2 separate regions of the Homo sapiens genome follow, and region 2 is linked to region 1. The links are contacts of gene promoters, found by promoter capture Hi-C in blood cells and fetal thymus (Javierre and others, 2016). All regions are on one chromosome and are shown on one strand. The core of a region is centred on a gene start or on the middle of the fragment in contact, and the rest is flanking DNA. Distances in the headings are between cores, read along the strand shown. Region 1 holds the start of RGS1 (regulator of G protein signaling 1). Region 2 overlaps LOC105371664 (a long non-coding RNA gene).

What was found. Contacts are between HindIII fragments. The CHiCAGO score rates a contact against its expected background, and 5 or more counts as called.
Region 2: a contact is called between a fragment that was not itself captured here and the fragment with the promoter of RGS1 in region 1, in 1 of 17 cell types (total B cells). The highest score is 5.7, in total B cells.

The regions. Positions count from the first base shown.
Region 1 is chr1:192,573,452-192,577,754 of GRCh38, forward strand. RGS1 (regulator of G protein signaling 1) reads left to right here and starts at 2,322. Exons shown (of 5, transcript NM_002922.4): 1 at 2,322-2,478; 2 at 2,834-2,914; 3 at 3,323-3,384. The coding sequence starts at 2,342. The region is part of intron 3 of LOC105371664 (a long non-coding RNA gene); the gene reads right to left. RefSeq lists an enhancer at 2,167-2,246. The HindIII fragment of the contact is 3,705 bases long and covers 1,240-4,303 here.
Region 2 is chr1:192,609,962-192,614,405 of GRCh38, forward strand. All of the region lies in intron 2 of LOC105371664 (a long non-coding RNA gene), which reads right to left. All of the region lies in intron 1 of LOC107985241 (a long non-coding RNA gene), which reads left to right. Among named protein-coding and RNA genes, the nearest start is that of RGS13, 24 kb to the right of the region's middle. The HindIII fragment of the contact is 8,586 bases long and covers 1-4,444 here.

The sequences.
Region 1 (4,303 bases), core at 1,072-3,571:
TGAAATCCTCTACTATTTCAACCAAAGTCATTGATTCAATAAAGTTACAATTTGACAGTTTATCTTTTCTTAGTGAAGTTTACAAAGAGGGGCCAGATAGTGGCACTCTCTTTAAAATTAATAGGGAACTTTCAATGCCCTGCCATGCACTTGTCACACTTGCTGATACAACTTGACCAAATTTGCCTTGTTCTGGAACACACAGACTTTGGGTGGATGAGCAAACAGCCTCTGAGAGAGCAGCTGCTTTATTGCATGACTAAGGTGACCTCATCAGCCAATTGTGATACAGGAATTTTGAAAGGACTCCCTCTTTCAAGAGTTTATATTTCTATTCAAGTGTGGAAGCATGCAGTTGTAAATGCTTGCGCTTCAAAATGTATATTGGGATAGGGGTAGCAAAATGTTGGGAGCATCAGAGCAGTTCCTAAATACACTACAGGCAAAAACTTATTTTGATCTCAGACCAGAGTTTCTTAACATAGTGTCAAAAAAACACATTATTTCAAAAAACTATTTTCCCTATCTAAAGAGGGTTTAGTTCTTTAACAAGTTAGGAGTCCAACATTTCCCAAACTTACTTGGCCCCATAATTTTTGCTGCTGCTCTTGTTCTTTGGAAACTGTCAGTATATTTGGATGATAATACTAGTGGGCTGTTAAAAATAATTTTTAAATCATTTTACTCTAACATAACTTACTCACAATTATTTAGAGGAGTGAGAGGATACTAGATCAACAAACATGAGCAATGTTGAAGATTTTAACAGGAAATTAAGTATGGACTGAACCACAGGAAGTATACAACCAAATGCCTTTATGTCATCTGTCTTTGAGTTTCATCGGTCTCATTAGGGTCACTTCCAAAGTGGCCAGCTCATCTCACCAGTTATCTTTCTTAATGCCTTATGTTATCTTCCCAACATAAAATGATGCTTGTTACATACAATATAATGAGCTCATTATAATGAAATTAATGACTGTGTATAAGTGAATTTTATAATATTGTAAATGTGTTTTCTTCAAATATTCTTTATCCTGACGATAGAACCAGAACAGAAAAATTAATACTCCCCTCCCTTTTATCAGCTTTACCTAATACCATCAGAAGCTTCACTAAGTAAATGCTTTTTTGTCCTTTTAAAGGAAAGTATTGTCCTTCCAGGGGTAAAATCCAAGGAGGCTTAAGTTAAACTGGGTACTCTATAAATAAGCCACACTTGTTATATAAACTTTTGAAAGCTTATATTTTACTAACTTCTCTATCCTTATAAATGATTAGTCATCTAGTTCCTTGAGTTTTGTTTGTGTTTTAAACTTTAATCTCAATTAAAGCTAAAACTGTTATCTCTCCAGAGATACTGCCAAAATGTGAAAGATCATTACCTAAGAAGTACACATTATTGGTCTATCCAAATAGACTTTTATTTTACCTTGAGCAGTTTTTCCTCTGATACTGTGACCTTGGTATCAGTATGTTTACAAATTATGTCATATTTGTATACAATTAAACATTTATTTATTTATGATTGGTTTTAATTAAACTTTATTTTTTCCTAATATGCAAAATATGCAAAAATCAAAGTTTGATATACTAGTTATATTCTTAATAAATATGAAAATAATATTAAAAACCATGCACCCCTTAAAATCATCCTATGTATTGCCAGTCGATGTCTAGCACACACCTTGGAAAATATTAACATGGAAATTTCCTGCCATGGAAATAAGGGATGAGAATTGGAGTGGGAAAATGTGAAGATAGCCTCTTATAACTTTCCCTCCTATCAGATATGTGCAAAATAATTAAACAAAAATTATTTGTTTACTTTGCCCTGCTTCCTGCAGAAAAGAAGAGAACTCTTAAAATATTTTGATCAGATGAATTTTATAGTCAAGGACTATCCAAAGCATGGAGTAAGATACAACTCTATGTGATGAATTTCTATGTGAGTTTCTATATGATAAATTAATACGCCAAATGAAACAGTTTATTGAAACATGCAACTTTTTTAAAATAAACAAACATCCTCCAGAACCAAAGACTGATGCTGTTAATGCTTTAGACATGTGACATATGTGTGTGTACCTCTGTATGTTTAATTTTCTTTCTTTCTAATCAAGTGACCTGTTCTCGTTTGGTTAAGTTTCAACCACAAGACACCACTGTATGCTTTTTTTTTTTCAAGATACACGTCACAGCACACCAAGAAAAGGGGAACTTCCAGTGTCTGTGGTAACATCACTTGATAAACAGACTCCTTTAAACAGCAAGTGCCTGTCTGCATTCTACTATATAAAGCAGCAGAGACGTTGACTAGCGCATATTTGCTAAGAGCACCATGCGCGCAGCAGCCATCTCCACTCCAAAGTTAGACAAAATGCCAGGAATGTTCTTCTCTGCTAACCCAAAGGAATTGAAAGGAACCACTCATTCACTTCTAGACGACAAAATGCAAAAAAGGAGGCCAAAGACTTTGTAAGTTTGTTCAGAGTCTCACTTTGTGAATTTTAACAAGTTATCTTTAATGGCAGAAGGATTGAGAATGAATGGAAGAGAGTGTGAGCATTTAGTTTAGCCAGATCAGAGGAGTTAATTGCCTGTTGTGAGTAATAAGTAATATTCAGCTGCATTAAAAAATAAATCTTGATATGGCATTAAATTGGGTAGGAGTTTTTCTCTACACAGGCTCATAAAAATGGGTTCTATAGCAAAATGTTGTATCAACCATTTTTAGTATTGCCTTATTCCTTAGAGAAATTTATTCTATGTCTTTTTACAAATAAAATGAATTCTGAAGAAATATGAATATTCACTTTTATGTCTTTTGTAGTGGAATGGATATGAAAGCATACCTGAGATCTATGATCCCACATCTGGAATCTGGAATGAAATCTTCCAAGTCCAAGGATGTGTAAGTACACTAATACACTAAACTATCATTATCATTTACAAGAGAAGCCTATGCATTATCTCTATATCCCAGCAAGGGATAAATACTGCGCACAGTAGACTTCATTTCTTTTAAGTAACATGCCAAATAAAATTAGACTATCAGTACCAATGTAAATTGAATACAAATGTGTACACACACATATTGGACTTTATCTATTTGGATTTTTTCAAATTTTATTGGCAGGTTTTTTTTTTCATAACTATAGTAACTCTAAGGGAAGTTTTGCATTTTGTGAATAAATTTTAACATATTTATTAGAACTACAGTTTCAGTTTGTGAAGTTATCAAAGTGTAACAGCCATTCTTATTTCATTTGTGCTTACATTTTAAAAATTGACTAATGTATGTACATTTTGTCCCCTGCAGACTTTCTGCTGCTGAAGTAATGCAATGGTCTCAATCTCTGGAAAAACTTCTTGCCAACCAAAGTAAGTATAACTATTGAATGTTTCTGGGTTCAGCTAAATACTCTAAAAAATTGAATGGCTTCACTAAATATAGTATTCTGGGTAGGATAGTATGCAAAAGGTTGTATTCTAGTTTGTCTGTAGTTACTGATAACTTCAGCATAGTATGCCTCTTAATAATGCTGACTTAGCACTCAATTCTGCCAACTCCTTTTAGACAAATTTGCCAAGACAATTAGGTATTTTCATAGATCATTATGGAGATAAAATTAAACATTGTGCTGGGATTCTGATATGTAAAAATTTTAAAAGTAAGCCAAATATTTTAATATGTACATTGCCATTTTGAAATCTGCCTAAAGAATGTATTTTTCTACACTTGGATGTAACAAGTATGATTCATTCATTCAATTAATTAAATTATCTTTCATACATTCATCATTCATCTCACCCTTATGTAGAGGACATTGTAGAGGTACCAAGGATTCAAAATCAAAGACAGTCTCTTACTGCCTTGAAGGTGGTTGAGATACATAACATAAATAATTGCATTATTATAACATGATAGTTTTTATGACATAAATATGATAGAAGGATTTTTAAGCACATATAGTCTTGTGGAGATTTTCTGATGAGAGAAGGTAAAGAATGAAATCAGCTTGCCATCCCCTTGTCTTGGGCATTACAATTCTACTGAGATTAGGACCTTTTTCAGAGGTGTAGATGAGCAGTGTGGTCTCTATCTCTAAAGAGTGAGATTATTCTTTTCTCCCCACAGACACCCTAAGGAGCTTTACTTGGGAATCACATTGTTCACTCTAGCTCAGCTGACTTTGTTTATAATTCAGCTAAACAAATAAATGGTATAGATATGGACCATAAATGGTGCCATATAAAAGTCTCAGTGAATGCTAGCAAACATAATTAGTACATCAGGCCT
Region 2 (4,444 bases), core at 1,287-3,786, 37 kb after region 1:
TAACATTGATTAAACATAGTGTTTACGTCACTAAAATCGTCAGTACTATAATCATAAGTTCTTATTCATGGGCTATGATAATAACTATGTGAAATCTATTTCTGATTAATCTTTCCACCTAGTGCTTAAATATAGAATATTACTATATTCAATACAAATATAAAAACATTTGATTTATATTTATTTAAATATATTTTTTATCCCTAGTATATTTATTAAATATATTAATATAGAGTTATGTATCTAGATCTATAAAAGGGTCAATATTTCGGCAAAAATTTTGCTATTAACTTTTCAAGGAAATTACATACTGGCTTTTAATTACAATGGCCTATGATGACACCTAGTGGCTAATGGGCATATTTTGAAATCCCCAATTTGACCAATATAAATGATTTTTAATTTTTTTAAAATAAATACAGTGATAATGTTTCCTTTTGTGGATTTTGGCACATTTTTAAAGTAAAATAAATATATCAAATTTCTCTTTCCTGTCACAAAGAAACTCTGAAAAAAGTTAACTGTAATTAAGAAAGACCACTTTTTAAAAATTGTACTTACATCGTCAGATAATATATTAGCTATCAATCATAGTTAAAAAGGAAGAAAATAACATTATGCAAGTTCAAAGTGAATGTAGGCATTGTAATCAGTTAACCCTCTAAATTTATAAAAATGTAAGGCAGAATCACTTAACGTGAAATTCCTGGGATGGAAATCATAGATTTATAGTCCTGATTGTGCCTCAAATTAGTTGTGTCCTTGAGCAAATTGTGCAATCTCTCTGTGCCTCAATTCTATAATTAGTAACATGAGAAGGTCAGAATTTACAGGCCTTTTGAGCAATTTCTTATGTGAGACTCTACAAATTGCTGTCAGTCACATGGCCTTCCTCATCTAGGCACCTGTTCCTAACACAACAGAATATGAAATGCTCCATTCTGAATTCAAGGTTTAATATATATCAGCTTTTCTGACACATATATTTTCTTTTAGATCATAAATTCATAATATGTACTTAATATTTAATTCATTTATAGTCCCAATCTTGAAATGTTTGGTAATTTCATTAGCTATTGAACAAAATGATATTAATTTTGAATGCTTCCTCAAGTTGCTTCACTAAAATGAAAAAGGAACCACTAGCATCTTTCCTTAATATTTAATAAGCATATATTTTTCACTTTATTCTAGAAATTTATAATTTTGCATAATTCTATTAAGTCTTCTCACAGACTTCCACTGTCTACATCTGAAGAGCTCTAGTCCTGATAGTTTGAACGTTTGAACTCATTTTATAGTTATCCCTCCCTCTCCGCACTAGGCACCCCCAACACACACACACACACACACACACACACACACACACACACACACGTAAATTCTTACCATCTTTGTCTTGCCATCTTTCTCTTCTTATATTTCAGTTTTCATTTTTTTCTTTTTTTAAAAAAAGTGGATTATTAAATATTTCAAGCATAGAAAAAATTGTAAGTCAATATGTAAAACACCCATGGATCTATCACTTATTTTTGTAATCTTAACATTTTGTCATATTTTATTTAGTAAAAATGGAATACTGCACAGACAATTAAGACCCCATATACCTATCCCCTGCCTCCATCTCTATCAGAAATCACTATCTATATTTAGAGTTTATAATCCACCTGCATGTCTTTATATTTTTATTACATATAACCAGGAGCAATACATGTACGGGTTTACATGTTTTAAAACATTATATAAATGTTTATATAAGTAAATATTCTTCTGCAATTTGTTTGTACAGAAGTTGTTAATTTCAATGTAGTAAAATTTACCAATCTTTTTCTTTAAGTTTTATACCTTAGTTTTTCTTTAAGAAATCTTTCTGTAGCTCAGGGTCATAACAGGTTCTGTACTAATTTTTTAATTAAATCTTTAATATTTTTGCCTTTAACCCATTGTTTTGGGTATAATGTAAGGCTGGTATCTGAGGTCATGGGCTTTTTTTTCTATATAGATAATCGGTCATCCCAGCATCAATCTATTGAATAATCCATATTGTGCTCTGATTTTCACCTCTGTAGTATTTTATTTTTCCATATGAGTAGGGCTGTTCTGTGCTGTACATTTTTCTATTTGTCTTTACTTGCACAGATATTATACCATTTTAATTTCTACAATTTTAGAGTAAACCTGGATATCGGTTCTCTCCACCATTTTGGAAAATGTCTTAATTATTTTTTACTCTTTTTTGAGGTATGAATTATAGCAAGAACTTGTCAAAGTCAAAGGAAATTGCTCTACTGTAATTTTGCTTGGAATTACATTGAATGTATAGGTTAATGAAGACAGAGTTATATTTATAATATTTTCCTCCATGAACATAATATAGCTCCTTATTTATTTAGGTTCTCTGTTTCATGAAACTACTAAGTTTTCTCTAGAAACTCTTGCACATCTCTTGTTAAATTTATTCCTAGGTTCCATATAATTTTATCACAATTTTAAATGCTATGGTTTAAGCTATATTTTATCTTTGCTTATGCTATATAAAGAAAAGCAGATTATTTTTACGTGTTAATCTTGTATTTCAACAGCGTAATTAAACTTTCTTTAGTGTCAAGTAATTTGCCTATATGTTCTTTTTAGATTTTCTTAGTAAGCTGATAGGCCTTCCCTATGACAATAATAATTTTGTCTCTTCACTGCTAATAGTTATACTTGTTTGCACTTTGCACTAGGTGTGGCCTCCAGCAAACATTTAATAGAAACAATGACAGTAATAGGACAGTACTTCAAAGGTTTTATTCTTAATATGACATTTGCTGTAAGTTTTTGGTAGAAACTCTTCACAGGATTCAGGGATTTCTCCTTTATTCCTAGTCTTCTTTATTGTAAATCAGTATTGCATATTTATCAAATACTTTTTCTGCACTTATTGGGATAATCACATGACTTTCATCTATTAATGCGATGAAATACACTAAAATATTTTATAATAGTAAAACTTCTTTGCATTCTAAAACAAGCCCAATTTAGTTCTAATGTATTCTTTTGCATATTAAAGATGAGCCTATAATTTTCCTTTCTCATGTTGTCTTTCTTCGGTTTTGATATAGAGGTTTTACTAGTTTCATAAAATGTGTTTAGAGATACACTCATTTTCTATTCTTTGGAAAGTTTATGTCATATTTGGATTTCCTGTCCTTTGCATAGTTGATTAAGGTTCCTCTAAAATTAGCTGGAGCTGGATTTGTGGTTTTGTGAGTGTGGATGAAGATAGGGGCATAGGAGGAGGTGTGCTGATGCACTAGGAGATGAAAATATTCAAATTTTCATTTAATTCCCATAATAGTTAAAGATCTATTCAGATTTTCTAATTATTTTTTGTCAGCTAAGTGACATTTTTGTAGAAATATGACCATTTATTTTTTGGTCATAGTATTCTCCTGTGATTCTGTTTCATATCTATTAGAACTGTAGATCTGTAGCCATGACCTTTTCTTATCCCTAATATTGTTAAAGGTCATCTCTCTATTTCTACTATATCACTTTTGTCAGAAAGACTTCCTTATTTTTACGTAGAAACAAATTTGTTTCTTAACCCTTTTTGTATTCCTTTTCTATTAAATTATGACAGTTGTTTTTATTTCATTAATTTGTGCTTTTACCTGTGTACTATTCCTTTCCCTCTGATTTATATGTTTTTTTGGTACTGTTTTCCTATCTTCTTTGTTGATCACATAGCTCATTATTTTGCAGTTTTCTTTCTTTTTAAAATACAAGCATTTAATGTCATATAAATTATCCTTAAAAAAATCATTTTAGGCCTGGCACAGTCATTAATGCCTGTAATCCTAGCACTTTAGGAGGCCAAGCTGGGGGGATTGCTTGAGGCCAGGAGGACGAGACCAGCCTGGGCAACATAGCCAGACGATATCTGTACAAAACTTTAAAAAAAAAAAATAGTCATGGCGGGCCGGGCCCGGTGGCTCACACCTGTAATCCCAGCACTGGGAGGCCAAGGCAGGTGGATCACGAAGTCAGGAGATTGAGACCATCCTGGCTAACACGGTGAAACCCTGTCTCTATTAAAAATACAAAAAATTAGCAGGGTGTGGTGGCAGGCGCCTGTAGTCCCAGCTAGTTGGGAGGCTGAGGCAGGAGAATGGCGTGAACCCGGGAGGCGGAGCTTGCAGTGAGCCGAGATCGGGCCACTGCACTCCAGCCTGGGCGACAGAGCGAGACTCCGTCAAAAAAAAAAAAAAAAAAAAAAAGTCATGTGGTACATGCCCTAGCTACTCTGGAGCCTGAGGTGGGAGGATTGCTTGAGCCCAGGAGTTCAAGGTTACAGTGATCTATGATAACACCACTATGCTGCAGCCTGTCTCTTTAAAAAAAAAAAAAATCACTTAAGCATTCTCCCACAAATTCTGATACACGACATGTTTATTATCTT